Regions from separate parts of the Homo sapiens genome. Here region 1 is linked to region 2. The links are contacts of gene promoters, found by promoter capture Hi-C in human tissues and cell types (Jung and others, 2019). All regions are on one chromosome and are shown on one strand. Each heading gives the region's core, a stretch centred on a gene start or on the middle of the fragment in contact. The rest is flanking DNA. Distances are from core to core; before and after follow the strand shown. Region 1 overlaps PXDNL (peroxidasin like). Region 2 holds the start of PXDNL (peroxidasin like).

What was found. Contacts are between HindIII fragments. The study calls those that stand out against the background at their distance.
Region 1: a fragment that was not itself captured here is called in contact with the fragment with the promoter of PXDNL in region 2 in 2 of the 25 tissues and cell types used here (H1 embryonic stem cells and mesendoderm cells).

The regions. Positions count from the first base shown.
Region 1 is chr8:51,630,730-51,636,920 of GRCh38, reverse strand. The region is part of intron 2 of PXDNL (peroxidasin like); the gene reads left to right. Among named protein-coding and RNA genes, the nearest start is that of PXDNL, 180 kb to the left of the region's middle. The HindIII fragment of the contact is 3,424 bases long and covers 1,408-4,831 here.
Region 2 is chr8:51,805,092-51,810,864 of GRCh38, reverse strand. PXDNL (peroxidasin like) reads left to right here and starts at 1,420. Exons shown (of 23, transcript NM_144651.5): 1 at 1,420-1,684. The coding sequence starts at 1,521. RefSeq lists enhancers at 1,003-1,524, 1,525-2,047. The HindIII fragment of the contact is 3,040 bases long and covers 567-3,606 here.

The DNA of each region.
Region 1 (6,191 bases), core at 1,870-4,369, 180 kb after region 2:
TACTCTGGGGTCAGGGACCCACTTGAGGAGGCAGTCTGTCCATTCTCAGATCTCACACTCCATGCTGGGAGAACCACTACTCAGGACAGGTTTTCTACTTCTGCAGAAAAAAAAAAAAAGTCATTGGAAATTTTATAAGGATTGTATTACATCTGTGTATCACTTTGGTAGTTGTAATCTCAACATCTTAAGCTTTCCAATTCATAAACATGAAATCCTTTTTCATTTATTTAGGTCTTCCTTATTCTTTTAGCAATGTTTGTAGTTTTTAATGTATAAATGTTTACTTTGATTAAATTTATTTCTAGACATTTTATTCTTTTTGATGATAAGTATAATTGTTTTCTTAATTTTCTTTTCAGATTATTTATTGCTTATGTACAGAACACAGCAGATTTTTGCATGTTGACTTTGTACCTGCAAGTGTGATAAATTGATTTATTATCTATAGTAGTTATTTTCTGAAATCTTTGAGATTTTCTAGATACACATTATGCCATCTGTGAATAGAGATAGTTTTACTTCTTATTTTCCAGTTTGGATGCCTGTATTTCTTTTTATTGCCTAACTGCTCTGGCTAGAACTTCCAATATAGCGTTAAATAGTAGTGATGAAAATAGGCATCTTTGTCATGTTCTTGATCTTAGGGGGAAGGTTTCTTTCACCATTAAGTATAATGTTATCTGGATTTTTAATAAATGTCCTTTATTATGTTCAGAAATTTCCTGCTATTACTTGTTTTTTGAGTATTCTTTGTTGATTATAAAAGGGTGTTGAATTTTGTCAAATACTTTTTACGTATCATTTGATAGGATTGTGTTTTCTCCTCCATCATTCCATTAATGTGGTGCATAACATTGGTTGACTTTCTTATGTTAAACTATCCTTGCATTCTTAGGTTAAATCTACTTGATCCTGGTGAATAATGTTTATGTTATGTTTTTTATTCAATTTTCCAGTATTTTGTTGAACAATTTTTGCATCACTATTACTAAAAGATATTGCTCTGTATTTTCTTCTCTTGTGGTGTCTTGTCTGTGTTTAGTAGCAGGCTAATACTAAACTCATAGAGTGAGTTAAGAAGCGTTCTTTCCTCTTCTATTTTTTTGGAAAATTTTGAGAAGAGGTGGTATTAATTCTTTAAATATTTGATAAAATTTACGAGTGAAACTATCTGGTCTTGAGGTTTTCTTTGTTGTGAGGTTTTTGATTATTGATTCAATCTCTTAAAAAGTACTTCGCCCCCCACTCAGATTTTCTGCTTTTTTTGAGACAGTTTTTGTAATTTGTCTATTTCTAATAATTTCTCTATTTTATTTAGGTTATCTAATTTGTTGGTGTACAATTTTAATAGTACTCTCATATTTTATTTATCTCTTTTAATAAAGTCAGTAGTATTGTCTTCACTTTTTATTTTTCTTGCTTTCATGGTTAGCCTAGCTAAAGTTTTTAAAATTGTATTGATCTTTTCAAAGAACCAACTTTTGGTTTCATTGACTCTATTTATTGTTTTTCTCTTCTCTGTTTCATTTATCTCCACTCTAATCTTAATTTTCTTCCTTCTGGTTGCTTTGCATTTAGCTTGCTTTTCTGTTTCTAACTCCTTCAGATGTAAAGTTAGGTTATCCATTTGAGATCTTCTACTTTTTGAAAATGTAGGCCTTTACAGTTATAAATTTCTCTCTCAGCACTGCTTTCACTGCATCCCGTAAGTTTTGGTATATAGTATTTTTGTTTTCGTTTGTCCTAAGTATTTTTAAATTTCCCTCATGATTTCTTCTCTGACCCACTTGTCATTTAAAGAGTGTGTTGTCATCTGACATCATACTGGATGGGCAAAAGCTGGAAGCATTCCCCTTAAAAACTAGAAGAAGACAGGATACCTACTCTCACCACCCCTATTCAACATAGTACTGAAAGTCCTATTCAGAGAAATCAGACTAGAGAAAGAAATAAAAGACTTCCAAATAGGAAAAGAAGAAGTCAAATTATCTGTCTTCACTGACAATATGATTCTGTACCTACAAAACCCTAAAGATTCCACCAAAAGGCTCCCAGAACTGATAAGTGACTTCAGTAAGGTTTCACAGTACAAAGTCAATGTACAGAAATCAATATCATTTCTATACACTAATAATGTTCAAACCGGGAGCCATATCAAGAGTGCAATCCCATTTTCAATAGCCACAAAAAAATAAAATATGTAGGAATACATCTAACCAAAGAGGTGAAAGAGCTCTATAAGGAAAAGTACAAAACACTGCTGAAAGAAATCATAGATGTCACAAACAAATGGAAAAACAGTCCATGCTCATGGATTGGAAGAATAAACATTATTAAAATGGCCACACTGCCCAAAGAATCTACAGATTCAGCACTGTTCCTATCAAACTACGGATGTCATTTTTCACAGAATTGTAAAAAACTATTCTAAAATTAATACGGAACCAAATGACAGCCAAATAGCCAAAGAAGTCTTAAGCAAAAAGAGCAAAGCCAGAGGCATCACATAACCCAACTTCAAACTATATTATGAGGCTATAGTAACCAAAACAGCATGGTACTGATTCAAAAACAGACATATAAACCAATGGAACAGAATAGAGAACCCAGAAAGAAAGCTTCACACCTACAGCCAACTGATCTTTGAAAAAGCCAACAACAAAAATAAACAATGGGGAAAAGACTCCCTATTCAATAAATGGTGCTGCGATAACTGGCTAGCCATATGCAGAAGAAGGATACTGGATCCCTACATTTCACTGTATAAAAAAATTAGCTCAAATTGCACTAAAGATACAGATATAAGATCACAAACTCTAAAAATCCTAGAAAACCTAGGAAATACCATTCTGGATGCTGGACTTGGGAAATAATTTATGACTAAGTCCTCAAAAGCAATTGCAACAAAAACAAAAATTGACAAGCAGGACCTGATTAAACTATAGAGCTCCTCCATAACAAAAGAAACTATCAACAGAATAAATAGGCTATAGGATAGAAGGAAATATTTACAAACTGTGCATCCAATAACAGTCTAGTATTCAGAATGTATAAGGAACTTAAACAATTAAAGAAGCCAAAAACACATAACCCCATCAAAAAGTGAACAAAGAACATGAACAGACACTTCTCAAAGAAAGACATACAAGCGGCCAACAAACATATGAAAAAATGCTCCACGTCACTAATCATCTGAGAAATGCAAATTGAAACCACAGTAAAACACTATTTCACACCTGTCAGAATGGCTATTCTTCTTCTTCTTTTTAGAGATGGGGTCTTGCTCTGTCACACAGGCTAGAATGCAGTGACATGACCATAGCTCACTGCAGATAATGGCTATTATTAAGAAGTTAAAAAACAACAGATGCTGGTAAGGCTGCAGAGAAAGGAGAACACATATATGCTGTTGGTGGGAATGTAAATTAGTTCAGTCTCTGTGGAAAGCAGGTTGGAGATTTCTCAAAGAACTTAAACTACCATTCGACCCAGCAATCTCATTGCAGGGTATATACCCAAAGGAAAAACAACTGTACTACCAAAAAGACACATGCATTCATATGTTCATTATAGCACTCTCACGATAACAAAGACAGAATCAACCTAGGTGCCTATCAACAGTGGATTGGATACAGAAAATGTGGTACACATACACCATGGACTACTATGCATCCACAAAAGAGAATGAAATCATGTCCTTTGCAGTAACGTGGATGCAGCTGGAGCTCATTATCCTAAGCACATTAATGCAGAAACAGAAAAACCAAATACCATGTGTTCTCACTTGTAAGTGTGAGCTAAACATTGGGTACATATGGACATAAATATGGGAACAAATTGACACGGGGGGTATTAGAATGGTGAGAGAGGGAAGGGTGCAAGGACTGAAAAGCTACATATTGTGTAATGCGATCACTATCTGTATGACAGGATCATTTATACTCCAAAACTCAGCATCACCCAGTATACCCATGTAACAAACCTACACATGTACCCCCTGAATCTAAAATAACAGAAAATCTAAAATTACAGAAAACAAAACAAAACAAAAAACAAAAGGGTATATAGTTTAATTGCCACATATTTATGAATTTTCCAGTTTTACTTCTGTTACTGATTTCTAAATTCATTCTATTTGGTTAGGGAAGATATTTTGTATTATTTCAATCTATTAAAGCTTATTAATACTTTGGACTTACTTATGGTTTGATATGTGGTCCATCTTAAACGTTCCATAAGTACTTGAAAAAATGTTTATTCTATAACTGCATCGTGGTGTAAATATTTTTATTTTTTAAATACTTTATTGATTGATTGATTGATTGAGATAGGGTCTCATTCTGTTGCCCAGGCAGTAATGCAATCATAGTTCACTGCAGCCTTGAACTCTTGGCTCACATGATCCTCCCACCTTAGCCTCCTGAGTAGCTGGGACTACAGGCATGTGCCACCATGCCTGGCTCATTTTTCTTTACATTTTGTAGAGACAAGATTTTGCCATGTTGACCAGGGTAGTCTTGAACTCCTGGGCTCAAGTGATCTGCCTGCCTCAGCTTCCCAAAGTGCTGGGATTACAGGCATGAGCCACCCCACCCTGCCTGTTGTGGTGTAAATAATATAGCCTGTTAGATGTAGTTGATTTACAGTGCTTTTCAAGTCCTCTATATTGTTATTTATCTTCTGTCTACATGTTCTATCCATTATTAAAAGTAGGGTATTGGAGTCTCCAACTATTACTGTAGAACTATCACTTTCTCTCTTCAGTGGTCCTTTTTTCTTCATATAATTTGGGGCCCTGTTGTTTGTTGTTTTGGAGTCATAGCCAAAAAAATTATTTGCATCATGTTTTAAAAGTCATTCTGCTGCTCTCTGCCTTTTGATTGGAGAACTCAATCTATTTATATTAAAAATAATTACTGGTAAGAAAGGACTTACTTCTGTCATTTTCCTGTTTTCTGTATGTTTTATACCTTTCCTGTTCTTCTTCTCCTCCATTACTACCTTCTTTTGCATTTAATTAATTTTTTATTTTACTATTTTGATTCTGATCCCATTTCCTTGAGAAATGAGACACGAGGTAATTGATATCAACTTAGCTTCAATAGCATAAACTCTGCCCTATACAATCTGTACCTCCACTGTTATGTTGTTACTATTACATATTACATCTTTATTATGGTGTGCCTGTGAACATAAATTTATAGCTATTATTTTATGTATTTACATTTTAGATCATATGGGAAATCAAAAGAAGACTTAAACCCTGAAATTTAATAATTGTGTCCTTTATAATTACCTATATAGTTATCTCTACTGGATATTTTCACTTCTCTGTATTGTTTAGAGCTGTTATTTAGTGTCCTTTCATGTCAGCTCAAAAGATTCCCTCTAAAATTTCTTGTAGGATAGGTCCACTAACAATAAAATCTCTTAGCTCTTGTTTATCTGGAAATGTCTTAATATCTTCATTTTTAAAAAGCTTTTATTTTAGGTTGAGGGGTACATGTGCAGCTTTGTAATACAGGTAAATTGCATGTCATGGGGGTTTGGTGTACAGATTATTTCATTACCCAGCTAATGAGCATCATACCCAATAGGTAGTTTCTCAATTTTTTTCCCTCCTCCCATTCCTCACCCTAAGTAGGCTCTGGTGTCTGTTGTTCTCTTCTTTGTGTCCATGTGTTCTCATTGTTTAGCTTCCACTTATAAGTAAGAACATGTGGTATTTGGTTTTCTGTTCCTGCATTAGTTTACTAAGGATAATGTCCTCCAACTCCATCCATATTGCTGTAAAGAACATGATCTCATTCTTTTTAATGGTTGCACGGTATTCCATGGTGTATATATACTACATTTTCTTTATCCAGTTTACCGTTGATGGCCTTTTAAGTTGATTCTGTGTCTTCGTTGTTATGAATAGTGCTGTGATGAACATAAGTATGCATGTGTCTTTATGACAGAACAATTTATATTTCTTTGGGTATATACCCAACAAAGAGGTTGGTAGGTCGAATGGTAATACTGCTTTAAGTTCTTTGAGAAATAGCCACACTGCTTTCCCCAATGGCTGAACTAATTTATGTTCTCACCAGCAGTGTATAAGCATTCCCTTTTCTCTACAACCTTGCCAGCATCTGTTATTTTTGACTCTTAGATAATAACTATTCTGACTGTTATGAGACAGTATC
Region 2 (5,773 bases), core at 171-2,670:
CTCCTGAACTTACATATTTCTGAGTCCCTACCCTTTTTAAGTCTACTTTATGAATGCAAGATATTTTTATATTTTTGTATTTTATATATTTTATATTATTTATATTTTTTGTATTTTATATTTTGAACTGCAAACAAGGCACAAACCTGCAGGTCTTGTCTATGTCCTCCAAATCACAGGCACTGCCAAGAGCATAGTGATTGTTGGGATTTAAAGGAATAAATTTCGTTTTTTGGCTTTATTGGTATACTTGGACAATAAAAGTCATGTGAACAATGTCAAATGTAAAGTTTAAAATAAATCATTCTTGTTCATGGAGATTAGTTTTGTTTTTTAGATCTTTTTACATTTTAATCTCCCCAAAATCACATATTTAGATATGAACATTTTGCCAAAAGAGGGCAGTATTCGCCTACAGTAGAATGTAAAGGGACTGAAACATTTCTGCAGAGACAAGGATGAACTTATTTTCCTCTTAAGATTGGTCTACTAGTCTGATCATCTGGGATTGACCATGCAAGTTTTAATTTGTTTTCTATTACTTTTATGGATTTAAAACATTTTTGTTTGAAAATGTTAGTCTTTAAAGATAAAGCCAAAAATCTGTTTAAAAATACCTGCTTACAGAATGACCAAAAAGTAGATGTTTTCATATTTATTAAGTTTTCAGACACGTCCTCAACGAGGTGCTGCTCACTTCAGGGAAAGATGGCCAGTTCAAACTGCTGATGAAAAGTCTGCAACCAGCAAGACCACTGCTGCCAGTGTGTCCTGAGGGAGCTTGCATCTGTTTGACTTTACATATACATACTTAGGTTTGTCCATCAGTTGTATCCTCTTGAAGGAGGTATGTGAGTTCATGGTTTTAAGCATATAAATTTAAACGTTAAAAGAAGAAATCAGAAGTAGCCCGTTTGAGTCTTACATGAGTGAAATGTGTTGGGTTTCAGCAGCAGAATATATAGAAGGAAATGAAACAATTTTTATTAAAGAGCATAGTTTGGAATAAAGAAAGAATATGTGCACCTAGATGAACGAATTAGAACTCTGCCTGCCCTTTAGGGTTTGGTAATGTTACCAGATAAAAAAGAAGAAAAGCTGTTCTGCATTGTTTCAATACATTCTTAATCAACTTGGGCTTCAAGAGGACAGCTGGAGGCTAAGAGGTCGGGTTTTTCATCAAATGCGCAGTGGAAGTAATTTTGGAAAAGTTTGTTTGCATTATGCTGCCTAAAACACGGTGTTTTAGAAAGAGGCTTTTGCATTGAAAAGCTTCTCGTCCTCGCCTCTGGGAGTCTAGTGCTTCCTAGAGCTGCTTGTGCCCTCAGCCCTGTAATGTGATATCCCTCCTCCTGGATTGGTCAGAGGGGTGTCCTTTCCCTGGGAGCTGCTTTCCACCACGGCTCCCAAACTTGGCTCAGTCCAGCAGCCACCATCACCACCACTGCGGTTGCTGCTGCAGCTGCAGCTGCTGCTCTCCCTCCGGCTGCTTCTTCGCGTGGCCAGCAGCGAATGGAGCGATGGAGCCCAGACTGTTCTGCTGGACCACTCTCTTTCTCCTGGCCGGGTGGTGCCTGCCAGGGTTGCCCTGCCCCAGCCGGTGCCTTTGCTTTAAGAGCACCGTCCGCTGCATGCACTTGATGCTGGACCACATTCCTCAGGTACCACAGCAGACCACAGTTCTGTAAGTTCACATAAATTCCCCAGAAACCCTCTTCCCCAATGCTTCATTGCTTCTCTGCTAGGACCTGTGTCCTTTTAATTTACGATTCCTAATGCTCTCCCTGCTTGTATACTTAGAAGAGGCTTTTCACTTTTCAAACAATTTCATGGTTCTGCTCTGTTAGACTAGAAAATGTAAGCAATGATGAGTTGACATAAATATATTTGTTTTGGATTCAGTTCTCTTCCAGCATCTTCCAGAACTTAGCATTGAGAATTCTCGTCTTCATTCTTCCTTCAATAATTTTCCTGCATACTTTCTCAATTTATTCCTATTCATCCTCTACTCCCAAGTCTTTGGGCCTCTTAATTGGTCAGCACGTGTCTGCCCCATTTGGAAGGAACTAATTTAACTTTAGAGTGTGGTTTCAATTGATTATGTGCTGACAAATTGTTAGGCTTTGTACTGTGTGTACCTCCTGGGAGGGTGAAGTCCTGAGCCCTCAGCACTTGAAGCACTGTCTGTCTCCAGAACAGACCCTCAAATGGTCCAGTAGAGTTCTTGAATGCTTAAAAGCCTTGTGGAGCAGCCGCTTAGACTAATCGGCATCTAGGAGGCATTACGGGATAGTAGGGCAAACCAGAATTTGGAAGTCAAACAGGTCTGAGTTCAAATCCTATCTTCTCATCTTTAATATTCAGATAATAAACCCAAACATTTAGATTTATTTAGATTAAATTAAGTCATAATTAGATAATTAGAAGGGCAAATCACCACAAAAGAAGAAAAGGATCTGTTTCTAGGGTCTATTTTTAAAGAAAGAAAAAGACGACAAATTCAAAAATTTAAGAAAAAATAAAAGAAGAAAAGGAAAAATGCTGAAAGATGCAGACTAAAGAGGTTTCCTGCTCTATAATAAATATTTTGTGGGTTGTGTCATGTTCATGGAAGACAAAACTGCTTGCAGTGTTTCAAGTCCATTCTTGGGCAGAGGGAAATAGCTTAAAATTCCTGGAATTTTGAGATATAAATGTTTAAGAGGATCATTGCCACACATTTGTCAGTCATAATCGTGAAATGAGGACTTGGTAATAAAAAGTCCAATTTGATGGTATTTACATAGAAAATGACATATTATCCATAGATTTTCATTTCTATAAAGCATTTCATTAATTTTATATGCATGCAGATATCAAAATACGTCTTACTGTAATAACTGAAAGGATTCTTGAACTTGGGAGCACTGCTTATTGCTATGTGGACAGCACAGTTCTGCAAGTGCCTTCAGACTCAGAACCAGCCATTTGTCCTTTTGTAATGACAGTTTTTTGGTAGATAGCAGCAAAGCCTTGGAGAAGGGGCTGCTTGTCTAATGAAGTATCTTGGAGCTACATGAGGTACAACTCGACCTAAATTTTGTTTCCTAGGTGTTTCAAAGAAGAGATTAGCTTGCATTAGACACACACCTCTAAATGTAATGAGCAGAACTGAAGTGATGTTGTCAGTGTTGTCATGCAGAGCCTTCCACTATGTTTAAAAATAAAGCTTAATGGTGGATTCTCAGGCCCTTGGCTAGATTCCTGTCTGGGAGTCTGGTGCCACCACTTACAAAATGTGTTGCCTTGGACAAATTCTTAACTTCTTGGTGTCACAGTTTCCTAATCTGTAAAAATGGAGATGCTAACAGTGTTTGATATGGTTTGGATCTGTGTCCCCACCCAAATCTCATGTTCAATTGTAACTCCCAATGTTGGAGGTGGGGTGCAGTGGGAGGTGATTGGATAGTGGGGGCGGATTCTCATGGTTTAACACCACCTCCCTTGGTGTTGTCATGGCGAGAGTGAGGTATCACAAGATCAGGTTGTTTAAAAGTATATAGCTCTTCTTGCGTCTCTCTTCCTCTTGCTCTGGCCATGTGAAGTTCTCACTCCCCCTTTGCCTTCTGCGATGATTGTAAGTTTCCTGAGGCCTCCCCAGAAGCCAAGCAAAAGTTGCTGTACTTCTTGTACAGCCTGCAGAACCATGAACCAATTAAACCTCTTTTCTTTGTAAATTACCCAGTTTCAGGTATTTCTTTATCACAGTGTGTGAAAACAGACTGATGCACTCTTCACCCTATTGGTTATCTTGAAGATTTAATGAATTAATGCATTTTAAGTACCTAGAAAATTGCTTAGCTCTAGTAAACACTATGGAAGTTTTCACTATTAGTATCATGTTTGCAATTCAGGACAGGAATTACAAACCTAAATATCTCTGGGAACCTGCCAGTAAACAATTTGAGGGAAGTGGGGTAGATGAAAGGCAGACTACTGTGTGATGAATAGCAACTAGCCTGAAGCTTGGAGTGTGTGGGGATGGTAATGAAGGCAGAGGCAGCTCTTGCTAATGGGGCAGCCAGTTACTTAGCTAATTGATGGCCTTTGGGGATTTGGGCCATAGTTTCAAGAAAATATGGAAGCCAAAAGTGACATTCCCTAGCTTTTCAATATTAGCAGCTAATTACATTTTTAGAAATGGAAAGGCAAAAATATACAAGCCCAACCATGCATATTTGTAGGTTGCTTTTTGCCTAGGACCTTCAGTTTGTGACTTCTAGTAGAGAAATGGTATAAAAGCTGAGAAGTATATGTAAAGCCTGTAAAAATTGCTCCTCTACTCCTCTGGGGCTAAAAATCCTTGATGTAGGATTGCATTTTATGTCAGCAATATCATGAAAGATGACAATAACAATTATGGGAAAAAGCCAATTAGTTTTTGAAAACTAAGGCAAATGGAAGCTGAATGAATTTCTCCCCAGCAGCAGAACCAATAGTTTTTGTTAAACCGCCCTTATGTATGTTTATTGTCATTATAACATGGAAATGATGTAAATAATATATTTAGCTCTGCAAATGGCCAACATGCTTAGTAAATGCTTATTAGTAGTAGTGTTAAAATTTCCTTAATTTTTTCCATTTTTACATGTTTTAAAATTTTAGCCTGAATGCAGAAAATATTTTCCTAAATCATAGATAAGAAAACTGTATTATTTTTAAGATTGGTTACAGTTGATCAGGGTTTTAAGTTTAGAAAAATGCAAAACTGTCCCTCCAAATTTTAATTTCATTCTGACTATAAAGATATTGTGTTTCTAAACTAATATCATTTACCAAAAAGCCTGCTGCCATTGAGAAAATCTCACTCTTTGTGCCGTGGATTTTAGTAAAACAAATCTTTCAGAATTAGAATTTGCAAACAAAAAAATGTCCAGTAATGAACACAGCATCTTTAGGGAGCCTGTTCAGTAATCAGAAGCAGTGTATGGTGAGTGTGATTTGACTCCATCCTATTCCAGGGTCATTAGGTTGTACTTTCCTAATTTCCTTAGTTACTGGTTAAGAAATGGACTCAGTGACTGCAAATTGAACATGCTCTAAAAACCACCTTGATTAGAAAAAGTTTTAAGCTTAGGGCTGTTTTAATGATCGAGGATTTTCCTAAAAGTCATAAATACAAAAGTATTTACAATGTGAAATTCTAAACATTTAATTTAAAGACATTTTCTTTATGTGGAAAGCTTTCTTTGCTGTCCAAATAATAGAAAACTTGAGGAACAAGATGGGGGTGGGGAAATGGAAAATGTCTTATGCTCAGTCATGAAAAAGTGTGTCCAGCTGATAAAAAATTTCACCTTGTTCAAGAAGAAAATAGAATTCCTTCAGCTCTTCCAATTTCCATTCATTTTATATATATATAATATATATATCATTTTGTATATATACATAAAATGATGTGTTATGGAATAATAGGGAGTAGCTGCAATCTGAGGCAGCAAACATAATTTTATAATTTAAATTATATATAAAGTTTTATATATAAAATTGTATAATTTAAAATATATATATGTATATATAAAATACAACTTAATAGGGCTTACTTTTACCTTTGTTACAAAATTTTTTGTAGCTTGTTTGTAACCGACATAACTTACTGGCTTTGAATGACCACTTGGCAGTAATGAACAGGCCTGAACTTTTTGGACCTTCCCCCACCTGGCATTGTTGAGGGGAAGCACAGTGGGACCCAGATGAAGTGTGTCAACATTCAAACTTCCCCCAGTGGTTGACT